Linked DNA regions of Homo sapiens: region 2 is linked to region 1. The links are contacts of gene promoters, found by promoter capture Hi-C in blood cells and fetal thymus (Javierre and others, 2016). All regions are on one chromosome and are shown on one strand. Each heading gives the region's core, a stretch centred on a gene start or on the middle of the fragment in contact. The rest is flanking DNA. Distances are from core to core; before and after follow the strand shown. Region 1 holds the start of CACNG8 (calcium voltage-gated channel auxiliary subunit gamma 8). Region 2 holds the start of GP6 (glycoprotein VI platelet).

Region 1 (6,154 bases), core at 2,720-5,219:
TCAAACAACTTCCCAAACCCTGCTGCCCCCACCCTAGATGAGCCTCTCGTTGTCTCATTTGCCTTCCCCTCGGTCATTTGTTAACACAGCAGCAAGAAACATACCGCAAAAATGTAAGTCAGCTCGTGTGACTCCTCTGCTCAAGAACCTTCAACGGCTCCCATCTCCGAATCTAAAGCAAAGTGCTTTCTGGGATGTATAAGAAGCCGTGAGGCCGGGTGCAGTGGCTGACATCTGTAATCCCAACACATCGGGAGGCTGAGGCCGGAGGATTGCTTGAGCCCAGGAGTTTGAGACCAGCCTGGGCAATATAGTGAGACCCTGTGTCTACAAAAAATGGGGGCATGTGCCTGTAGTTCTAGCTATTTGGGAGGCTGAGGCAAGAGGACGGCTTGGGTTCAGGGGTTCAAGGCTGCAGTGAGCTATGGTCTTACCACTGCACGCCAGCCTGGGTGACAGAGCAAAACCCTGCCTAAAAACAAAAAAAGAAAAACAAAACAAAAACAAACACAGAAGCTGGCCAGGCATGGTGGCTCACATCTGTAATCCCAGCACTTTGGGAGGCCTAGGCGGGCCAATCACTTGAGGTCAGAAGTTCGAGACCAGCCTGGCCAACATGGTAAAACCCTGTCTCTACTAAAAATACAAAAATTAGCCGGGCATGGTGGCACACACCTGTGATTCCAGCTACTCGGGAGGCTGAGGTATGAGAATCGCTTGAACCCAGGAGGCCGAAGTTGCAGTAAGCCAAGATCACGCCACTGCACTACAGCTTGGGTGACAAAGCAAGACTCTGTTTCAATAAATAAATAAATAAATAAATAATTTTTAAAAAACAGAACCTGTGGGATGGGGACCCTGATACCCCTACGACTGCACCTCTTACTCCTACGTTCTCCGCCACCCACTCTGCCCCGGCCACGCTGACCTCACACTGGCTTGATCAACACACAGCCACACTCCCACCTCAGGGCCTCTGCGCCTGCTATTCCTACAGTCTGAAGCACTTTCCTCCATCTCTTACTTCCTTCAGACCTGTGATCAAATGTCACCTGCTCGGGGAAGCTTTTCCTAGATTCCTTATCTACTTCCCACGGGGATCCCTGACCCCTCCCATCCCCTCCCCCAACTCCTTGTCCTCCTTAGCACTCAGTTCTATCTAACACCCTAAAGGTTGACTTTACCTCCATCATTATCTGTCTCTCCCTTAGAATATAAGATATATAACGACAGGAGGTTTTGTCTGTTTGTTTTCCACTGCTGCAGCCCCAGAATCCAGAACAATGCCTGGCACATAATATAAACTCAATAAAAATGGGACGTTGAATGAACGAATGAATGAATGAATGACATCCCTACTAGATGCCACGTGCTGTCCTAGGGCTCCCATGATGGGAGCCCTCACACTTGGCTCTATGCCTGGTACTTGGTCAGACCAGTGAATGGACATGAACTCAAACTTCCACAGGAGAGGCAAAGAACATCACGAGAGCCGTGGGAGGAATGGGAGGCGAGACGGAGCAGATGGAGGTGACTGTGGGGAAGTGGAGACCCCCCAGCTGCTGCTCAGATCCGGCCCATCGTGGTCAGGGTAGAACACAGGCTTGTGCTAGATCTTCCGCCAGCTCAGAAGAAGCCGGAAATCAGAACTACAATGGGAAGCCTCCCTATTTTTAACTGTTGGCAATGGATTCAGATTTTGCTTTCAGTTTTAAACACTTTGTACACTAGACAGAGCGCATCTGTGAATCCCATCCATGAGATTCGAGTTCTGCTCTTGGCTCGGCCCCTTTCTCAGCTAGGTGACCTTGGGCAAGTGACTTCACTTCTCTGAGCCTCAGTTTACCCATCCCCAACAGCGAGGTGGTGCCCACCTCATAGGATTAAACGAGATAACGTTCCCGGCTTGTCGTGAACACTCAGCAAAACAGAGGAAGAAGGGGCAGAGGAAATAGAGGGGGATGAAAAAGAGAAGCAAGAGATTTCAATCTTTTGGCCGAAGGGGGCATCAGGATGGCTGGTTCCACTCCTTCACGTTGCAGACAAGGGCTGTGAGGCTGGGGTGCAGGAGGGAAGACAGTGGTCACACAGCAGGGCAGATATGCAGCAGAACTGGCACCCAAGACTCCTGCTTCCCAGCCCCGCAGCTACTTGATACTCAGGAAAGAAATACTGATGCTAAGAGTGGGAGAGAGAAGGGGTTGGCACAGCAGAGGGCAGGAGTCTTGGAGAAGTGGGGAAGTCGAGAGCCAGGGAGCCGAGCTAGGAGAGAAGCTGTGAGAGGGAGAACAGGACAGAGGAAAAGAACCAAGTCGAAGATCCGAGGAGGTAGCAGGGGCAGGAGCGAGAAGCCTTAACGTGAAGGCCTGAGGCATCGAGTCAGGAAGACGTCGAAGGAGGCATGAGTGGAGGAAGAGGAAGTGGAGTCCACTAAAGGAAAAAGGAGGAAAGGACCAGGATGGGAGGTTGGAGGGCACCCTGGTGGGAGAGACATGGGTGGGGGCACTGATGGGAAGAGAAAGATGAACAGGAGGAGAAGCACAAGGCAGAAAAGAGAGAAAGTCATGAGTGAGGGCGAGTTAAGGCACGAAGTTTCAGGGGAGCAGCAGCCAAAGAGAAGGGGAAAGAGACAGACCGGAAGACTGGGCCGTGAAAGGGGGCGGGAGAGGCAGGGGACTTCAGAGGACTGGGGGGGAAATGTCGGGAGAGAGAAGATGTCACGGGGCACGAGGGAGAGGAAATGAAGGGGCAGGTGGAGCGGAGGAGCAGGGTCAAGATGAACTGACGGGAAAGAGGGAGAAAGAGGCTGCTGGGTGCAGTGGCTCATGCCCTTCATCCCAGCACTTTGGAGGCCAAGGCAGGAGGATCTCTTGAGCTCAGGAGCTCGAGACCAGCCTGGGCAACAGGAGACCTCATCTCTACAAATAATAAAAAAAATTAGCTGGGCACAGTGGCTCATGCCTGTGGTCCCAGCTACTCAGGAGGCAGAGGTGGGAGGATGGCTTGAGCCTAGGGATTCGAGGCTGCAGTGAGCTGTGATTGTGCCACCGTACTCCAGCCTGGGCGACAGAGTGAGACCTTGTCAAAAAAAAAAAAAAAAAGAGAAAAGGCACAGGGCAGAGTGGAAGAAATGAAACAGGAGGAGCCCCAGGTACTGGAGAGAGGGAAGATGCAGGGGTGTGATGGGGCAGCGCAGGAGACACGGACTAGGGAAAGATAGGATAAGGGGGTTCAGCGGAGAGGCAGAGGGGCTGCAGAGGGAGCATGCCGAGGAATTCCGCAGGGTGCCAGGACGCAGGGAGGAGTGGGAAGGAGGGGAGAGGAGGTCAGGGGCGCGAGTGGGAAGGCGCAGAAGCCCCTCTGGCAGAGGAGGAGGGGTGCCCAAGGGGGCCCCAGGATCAGGGACAGGCAGCCCCGGGAGGCTCAGGGTCTCTCGGAGGGGAGCGGCGGGGGCTGCGGGGAGGGCCGCCCGCACCCTACCTTCCAGGCAGCAGATCCTCCAGAGGCCCGAGTGCGTGAGGCCGCCGGGGTCCTTCTTCTCCGAGGCGCCGCCGCCCCCGCGGTGGGGGGTCCCGTCGTCGCCGCCGGCCGTGAGGTTGGTGGTGTTGCAGATGAGGGCGCGCGTGTAGAGCCAGTAGTCAGTGCTGATGGCGATGGTCATGAGGCCGAAGGCGGCGAAGGCGCCCACCGTCGTCAGCAGCACCTGCACCCCCTTCTCGCACCAGAGGCCCCGCTCTTCGTTCCAGCGCTTCAGCGACTCCAGTTTGACCACGGGCAGCCGGGGGGCCGTGGGCCACCACCGGGGCAGCGGGGGCGGGGCCGTGCCGGCGGCTGGGGGGGGGTTCACAGCGCAGGCAGAAGCGGGGGGCCCGGGGCCGGCGGGGCTGGGGAGGGGGGCGGCGAGGAGGAGGCTGCGGCCGGGGAGGGGGTCAGAGCGCGGCCATGGTCGGCGGCTGGTGGAGGGCAAGGAGCGAGATCTCGCATTAGAGGAGAAGAAGGCACAGGTACCTCCCCCAGTCCCCGCCCCCCCCCCCCCAAAATCCCTGCCTCAGCTCCAGAAACTCCTTCCACTCGGGGCTCCACTGCTTCTCTTTCTCAAAAATAATAATAATAATAATAATAATAATAATAATTAATAAATAAGATGAAATCTCTCTCCACTCTTGTCTTCTGCCCAAGAAAGTCATCCCACCATCCCACTAACCCCACTCGGAGGAGTCCCCACCACCGCTAATAATTAATAAATAAGATGAAATCTCTCTCCACTCCTGTCTTCTGCCCAAGAAAGTCGTCCCACCATCCCACTAACCCCACTCGGAGGAGTCCCCACCACCGCTAATAATTAATAAATAAGATGAAATCTCTCTCCACTCCTGTCTTCTGCCCAAGAAAGTCGTCCCACCATCCCACTAACCCCACTCGGAGGAGTCCCCACCACCGCTAATAATTAATAAATAAGATGAAATCTCTCTCCACTCCTGTCTTCTGCCCAAGAAAGTCGTCCCACCATCCCACTAACCCCACTCGGAGGAGTCCCCACCACCGCTCACACTCACAGCCCTCGCCCCTAGCCCGCGCCGCCTCCGCCCCAGGGGGCTCCACGATCCTCATCGCATGGGAAGCCACCCCCCGCCATGATGCCAAGCCCCACGCCGCCGCCTCCTCCCCAGGAGCCCCCGTCGCGTTCTTCCTTCCTTAGCGACCCCCGCCCCATCACCATGCGGCGCCCACCAGCTCTCCCCACTCTTCCCCTGCAAGCCCCACCTCTCCACCCGCTAGAACCCTTCCCTGTCAGCCCAACTTTTCCCTGAGCGTCTCCACAACTTAAGAAGCCCGAGTAGCACCACTTCCGTGGGAGTAACCTCCGCGAGCCCCCTCCGGTCTGGCTTTTGTCATTCCATCACTCCAAATGGTCCCCCACAGTTTCCTCTCCTTAGGAAAAAATAAATCTCTCAACCTCTCTTCAACTAAAAAGGAAAAATTAAAAGAAGAAGAAAAAGAAAAAGAAAATCCCAGCTGACCCTCACAGTTTGTGCAACTCGGAATCACCAGCCACCCTCAGTCAGCCTCCTCTCCCTGGAAGCCCCCTTCCTGCCTCGGGCAGCCTCCAACACACCTGGAAATCACCCGAGGACCTTAAAAATTCGGATGTTTGAGTCCCACCTGAGAAAGTCCGACATGGTTGGTCTGCAGTGTGGCCTGCGCATGTAAGTTTTTAAAAGCTCCCTGGGGAATTCTAATGCACCCAACATCAGACCCACTGGTTTGCAAGCTGCCCCCCCCCCGCCATCTCCAGCCCATTCCCTGTCACAGCCCCCACTGTCTCCCCACAAGCCACTCACTCCCCACCCCATACTATGCCTTTACTCCAGGAAAACCCCCACCCTCTCTTTTGCTTTAGAAGAGTTTTCTGAATCTTCCCACCCCGCCACCCCCCCCCCCACAACTTAAACGAACTCATATCATAACCATCGTTTTCTCCTCCATTAAGAAAAATTTCCTCCGTGAGTTCCACGGCATTTTCTACTCGCAAGAATGGCTTCCTCCAGACCCCAAATGTCTCTCCACTCAGGACCATTCCAATCTCTGCCCTGTACTCCCATAGCAGGGGGCACACTGTACCACCCACCCGCCCCTCTGCACTCACAGCAGCTCCCACTGCCTCCAAATCCCCTCCTCGTAGCCCTTCATCATCACACGGGATCTTCAGCACACTGTTTCCCCCAACTTGAGATCCCCCTAACTCACTTTGAAGCCCACTCTCTCTTCAATGTACCAGGAAGCATCCTCCCCAACTTCTCTCTCATCATATAGAATTCCCTTGACTCACTTCCTCTTGCTCCACCGCTATAGCTCCCAGGTTCTCCTCTGCCCCGGAAAATCCCCTCCGCAGGCCCCCACAGGCTTCCCTTCTTGGGAACGCCCCCCAGTACTCCCCTCTACGACTTCACCTGTACAGGAACACACACTGTAGCCCCTCATCTTCTTCCACATGCAGAAAGAGCCCCCCCAGTAGACTGTGTCCCTCTGAAAAATGTGATCCGCAAGACTACAACTCTCTTTTCAATTAGGAATACTTTCCCAGCCTGCACCCGCTGCCCCGTGGCTCCTTCATTTCTCTCTTCCACATTCTCCCCCGACCACCATGCCCCCA
Region 2 (6,154 bases), core at 2,366-4,865, 1.1 Mb before region 1:
GCGGAGTGTCACCCTGATTTCCAGCCCCGCAGCACACACAGTGAGAGCCTGCCTGGCGTGATTCAGAGGCAACGTATTTCCCAAGGTGGCTGTGAAGGAACCAGGGGGATAAACACAGCCCGTGAACCGCACGCCAGAGGACAGGTCCGGCTGCCTGCCGCGGAGTCGTCACGGCGTGTCGCGTCTGAGCGCTTCTCCAAAGCACCCAAGTGGCACCCGGGGTGACAGTTACATCATCTTGAGTACAGTTCTCTCAAGGAAAAAGCAAGCCCAGCATCTTCTGCCATGGCAACCCTGGCTTGGAGCCTCCATAAGAGAGAAGGCCCTAAGAATAATACCATTTTCTTGCTCTAAGTTGCTCTTACGGGAAAGAAGTGATAATATTCTTCCTAAACGCCATCATTCGTGCATCCTTCCCACCTATATGTGTCACCGGATCATTCTCCGCCTGGGCGGGGCCGTCCTGTGCACTGCAGAATGCTGAGCAGTGTCCTTGGCTTCGACCGACCACATGCCAGGAGCACCCCAATTTCTGCCATCGGGTGATTGACTTCACTGTTGCATTTGATTTTTTATGTATCTTTTAAAAGGACCCAATAGGGCCAGGCACAGTGGCTCACACTTGTAATCCCAGCACTTTGGGAGGCTGAGGTCGGTGGATTGCTTGAGCCCAGGAGGAGTTCAAGACCAGCCTGGGCAACATAGTGAAACCCCAACTCTACAAAAAACAAATGTTTTATTTTTATTTATTTTAGATGGAGTTTCACTCTTGTTGCCCAGGCTGGAGTGCAGTGGCGCAATCTCGGCTCACTGCAACTTCTGCCTCCCGGGTTCAAGCGATTCTCCTGCCTCAGCCTCCTGAGTATCTGGGATTACAGGCATGCGCCACCACACCCAGCTAATTTTGTATTTTTAGTAGAGATGGCGTTTCTCCATGTTGGTCAGGCTGGTCTCAAACTCCCGACCTCAGGTGATCTGCCTGCCTCGGCCTCCCAGAGTGTTGGGATTACAGGCGTGAGCCACCACGCCCAGCCGGGTTTATAGTTTTATAACCCTTATGACAAATCTCATAGTATTCTGCAGGGATAAGCATGAAACCACTCGTTCAATAAGTGCAAACAAAAACGCCAACAATTCTTAAGACATTTCTAATCTTATTTTACCAATAATTTTAAAGCCAGCTTATGTATTAAAGATTTATAACTACTTTTATTAACACGTTTAAAATTCTATGCAGCTTAAAGCATTTATAATGGATAAAACTGCCAATACTGAGTGCCTGACATAATATTTGAAAGGTGGCAGGCATTCAACCATGGTCACTGAATGAGAGATGTAGGGAAGATGATGGCAGGGAGGTTTTTAGATATCAACACCCTGATAGTTCTCATTTTAACCACCTGTAAGTGCACATACAAGTCAACGGCACTGGCCGGGCGCGGTGGCTCATGCCTGTATTCCCAGCACTTTGGGAGGCCAAATCACAAGGTCAGGAGATCGAGACCATCCTGGCTAACACGGTGAAACCCCGTCTCTACTAAAAATACAAAAAATCAACTAGGCATGGTGGCACGCACCTGTAGTCCCAGCTACTCAGGAGGCTGAGGCAGGAGAATCGCTTGAACCTGGGAGGCGGAGGTTGCGGTGAGCCAAGATCGCGCCACTGCACTCCAGCCTCGGCGACAGAGTGAGACTCCGTCTCAAAAAACCAAAAAACAAAAAACAGTCAATGGCATTAAATATAAATACATTTACAGTGTTGTGTAACCATCACCACTATGGATCCCCCAGACTTTGTCATCATCTTCAACCTAAGCGCTCCCTATTAAATAGTAACTCCCCACTTTTCCCAGGCCTTGGCAACCACCATTCTAATCCCTGTCTCTATGAATTTGACTCCTCTCGATACCTCAGATAAGCGGCACAATGCAGTATTTATCTGTCAAGTCCGGAATATTTCCTTTAGCATAATGTCTTCAAGGTCCATCACGTTGTAGCATGTATCTGAATTTATTCTTTTATAATATTTTTTATTTTTTGGAGACAGAATCTCGCTCTGTCACCCAGGCTGGAGTGCAATGGCGCGATCTCGGCTCACCGCAACTTCCGCGTCCCGGGTTCAAGCCATTCTCCTGTCTCAGCCTCCGGAGTAGCTGGGACTACAGGTGCCTGCCGCCATGCCCGGCTATTTTTTTTTTGTATTTTTTGGGGGTTTTACTGTGTTGCCCAGGCTGGTCTTGAACTGCTGAGCTCAGGCAATCTGCCTGCCTCAGCCTCCTAAAGTACTAGGATTACAGGCATGGGCCACCACGCCCGGCCTTATTTTTATTTTTGAGACAGTCTCACTCTGCCGCCCAGGCTGGAGTGCAGTGGTGCGATCTCGGCTTACCGCAATCTCTGCCTCCCAGGTTCAAGCGATTCTCATGCCTCCGTCTCCCAAGTAGCTGGGATTACAGGCACCTGCCACCATGCCCGGCTAATTTAACGCCCAGCTAATTTTTGTATTTTTAGTAGAGATGGGGTTTCACCATGTTAACCAGGCTGGTCTCGGACTCCTGACCTCAGGTGATCCGCCCGCCTCGGCCTCCCAAAGTGCTGGGATTACAGGCGTGAGCCACTGTGCCTGGCTGATTTTTATTCTTTTAGTTAAGGCTGGTTGATATTACCTTGTGTGTATATACCACATGTTGTTTATCCATTGTTGTTGATGGACATGTGGGTGGTTTCACCTTTTGGCTATTGTGAATAAAGCTGCTATGAACACTGTGTACAAATATGTTAGAGACCCTGTTTTCAGTTCTTTTAGGTGTGTACCCCGAAGTGGAATTGCTGGATTTTATGGCAATCCCACGTTTAACTTCTGGAGGAGCTGCTGGAACTGTTTTCCACAGCAGGGGCGCCATGTTACGTCCCTGCCAGCAATGCACGCGCAGTTCAATTTCTCTGCATACTCACCAATATCTGCTGTTTTCCATTAAAAAAAATTATAGCCGGTCGGGTGCAGTGGCTCATGCCTGTAATCCCAGCACTTTGGGAGACCGAGGCAGGTGGATCAACTGAGGTCAGGAGTTCAAGACCAGCCTGGCCAACACAGTGAAACCCCATCTCTACTAAAAATACAAAAATTAGCCTGGTGTGGTACATACCTATAATCCCAGCCACTTGGGAGGCTGAGGCAGGAGAATCGCTTGAACCTGGGAGGTGGAGGTTGTAGTGGGCCGAGATGGCGCCACTGCACTCCAACCTGGGCAAAAAGAACGAGACTTTGTCTCAAAAGAAAAAAAAAAAATACAGCCATTCCAGAAGGTGTGAAGTCATATCTCACTGTGGTTTTGATGCGTATTTTCCTAGTGACATCAGGGAGTTTATGGGAGCACGGGAACACAGACCAGGCCCCAGCAGGCGGACAAACGGTGCAACGCCAGGCTGGCCAGAGGAGATAAGCGCGGCTCCTTGGAGCTTGTGTGCAAGTCACTGTACTGAGGAGCCGGCTACGGCTCGATGAGTCTCAATTAGGAAAGGCCGGGGCTGGTGGAGGAAGGGAGGAGAGCATTCTTCATCCTCATCACATCCTGAGCCTGTGCCCCAGGCTCCCACCACTTCCCTCCCTGGCCACAGAGCTCAGGACAGGGCTGAGGAACCATGTCTCCATCCCCGACCGCCCTCTTCTGTCTTGGTGAGTCCTGAGGGTCAGATCTGGGAAATGCTGAAGGACAGGCATGGACTGCCAGACAAAGGATTTTTAAGAAATTTGCATTGGTGATGAATTTCAGGACAAAAAGGAACCTGTAAGAGCCCCTTCATTTGTTGGGTGGGGAAACGGGGGGCCAGCGAGCTGGCATTTTGCATGAGTTATTCCAGTGTATTCATGGCTGGGTCAGGAAATGAACAGAGTATCCTAGCATTGGTCACAACTTTGTTCTACTACACTGCAGTTGCCCCTTTTTTAAAAAATGTGGGCCAGGCACAGTGGCTCACGCCTGTAATCTCAACCTTGGGAGGCCGAGGTGGGTGGATCACCTGAGGTCAGGAGTTCAAGACCAGCCTGGTCAACATGGTGAAACCCCATCTCTACAAAAATTAGCCGGGCGTGATGGCGGGTGCTTGTAATCCCAGCTACGTGGGAGGCTGAGGTGGGAGAATTGCTTGAAACTGGGAGGCAGAAGTTGCAGTGAGCTGAGGTCAGGCATTGCACTCCAGCCTGGGCAACAGAGAGAGCCTCCATCTCAAAAAAAAAAAAAAAAAAAAAAAAAAAGGCTGAGTGCCATGGCTTACACACTTTGGGAGGCCGAGGCGGGTGGGCCATCTGAGGTCGGGAGTTTGAGACCAGCCTGACCAACATGGAGAAACCCCATCTCTACTAAAAATACAAAATTAGCCGGGTGTGGTGGCACATGCCTGTAATCCCAGCTACTCTGGAGGCTAAGGCAGGAGAATCGCTTGAACCTGGGAGGTGGAGGTTGCGGTGAGCCAAGATCACACCATTGCACTCTGGCCTGGGCAACAAGAGCGAAACTCCGTCTCAAAAAAAAAAAAAAAAAAATTGTGGAATTGATATCTGGACTAGGTATGGATTTAATTTGTCAGTATCCCCTACAGTAGTGGAGTAAATAGTCTCCTGATGGATGGGTGGCAGGTCGAATGCATTTCTGCTGCCTGATCTTCACTTGTGCTGGGCATGTCGAATGCATTATTTCCTGATTTCTTCAGAATTTGACCACTAAAGGGACAGCATCTCCAAAAGGCTAAGCAGGAAGAAGATGGTTGCATTACTGGAGATGAGAGGGTTAACTGTGAATATAAACAACCTCTCATTCATTATCCATCCATGGATGTATTCTTTTTTTCTTTTTGTTTGTTTTTTGAGATGGAGTCTCGCTCAGTCGGTCGCTCAGGCTGGAATGCAATGGCATGATCTCAGCTCACTGCAAACTCTGCCTCCCGGGTCCAAGTGATTCTCCTGCCTCAGCCTCCCGAATAGTTGGGATTACAGGCATCTGCCACCAGGTCTGGCTAATTATTGTATTTTTAGTAGGGGCGGGGTTTCACCATGTTGGCCAGGCTGGTCTCAAGCTCCTTACTTCAGGTTCCACCCGCCTCGGCCTCCCAAAGTGCTGGGATTACAGGCGTGAGCCACCGCACCCAGCCTGTTTTAACTTTTATTTATTTAATTTTATTTGAGATAGGGCCTCACTTCTGTCACCCAGGCAGGAGGGCAGTGGCATGATCATGGCTCACTGCAGCCTCAACCTCCCAGGCTCAACCAGTGCCTCCCCATCAGCCTCCTGAGTATCTGGAACTACAGTTGTACACCATCATGCCTGGCTTGTTTTTGTAATTTTTTTAGTTACGGGGGTCCGCTATGTTGCCCAGGCTGGTCTTGAACTCCTGGGCTCAAGCGATCCACCCACCTCGGCCTCCCAAAGTGTTGGGGTTACAGGTGTGGCCTGTACAGGTTACTGCATCTGGCTTGTTGCTTCAGTAGCTTTTGGGATACAAGTGGTTCTTGGTTACATGGATGAATTATATTCTGGTGAATTCTGAGATTTTAGTGCACCTGTCACCTGACTAGTGTACCTTGTACCTAATGTGTAGTTTTTCATCCCTGCCCCACTTCTGCCCTTCCCTTCTGAGTCTCTGAAGTCCATTACATCACTCTGCATGCCTTTGCATACCCACAGCTTAGCTCTCACTTATAAGTGAGAATATACAGATTTTTGTTTTCCACTCCTGTATTACTTTACTTAGAATAATGCCTTCCAGCTCCATCCAAGTTGCTGCAAAAGACTTTTTTTTTTTTTTTTTAAAGACGGAATCTCGCTCTCTCACCAAGGCTGGAGTGCAGTGGTGTGATCTCGGCTTACTGCAAACTCCACCTCCCGGGTTTAAGTGATTCTCCTGCCTCAGCCTCCCGAGTAGCTGGGACTACAGGCACCCGCCACCATGCCCGGCTAATTTTTGTATTTTTAGTAGAGATGGGGTTTCACCATGTTGGGCAGGATGGTCTTGATCTCTTGACCTCGTGATCCACCCACCTCGGCCTCCCAGAGTGCTGGCATTACAGATGTGAGCCACTGTGCCTGGCCAAAAGACATTATTTCACTCCTTTTAATGGCTGAGTAGTATTCCACGCTCATTTATTTTTATTTATTTT

Evidence for each region. Contacts are between HindIII fragments. The CHiCAGO score rates a contact against its expected background, and 5 or more counts as called.
Region 2: a contact is called between the fragment with the promoter of GP6 here and the fragment with the promoter of CACNG8 in region 1, in 1 of 17 cell types (monocytes). The highest score is 5.1, in monocytes.

The regions. Positions count from the first base shown.
Region 1 is chr19:53,960,752-53,966,905 of GRCh38, reverse strand. It overlaps CACNG8 (calcium voltage-gated channel auxiliary subunit gamma 8), which reads right to left and starts at 3,969. Exons shown (of 4, transcript NM_031895.6): 1 at 3,481-3,969. The coding sequence starts at 3,763. RefSeq lists enhancers at 4,608-5,128, 5,939-6,154. The HindIII fragment of the contact is 5,876 bases long and covers 1,068-6,154 here.
Region 2 is chr19:55,035,725-55,041,878 of GRCh38, reverse strand. GP6 (glycoprotein VI platelet) reads left to right here and starts at 3,615. Exons shown (of 8, transcript NM_016363.5): 1 at 3,615-3,676. The coding sequence starts at 3,643. All of the region lies in intron 2 of GP6-AS1 (GP6 antisense RNA 1), which reads right to left. It also overlaps a transcript of RDH13 not described here. The HindIII fragment of the contact is 26,016 bases long and covers 1-6,154 here.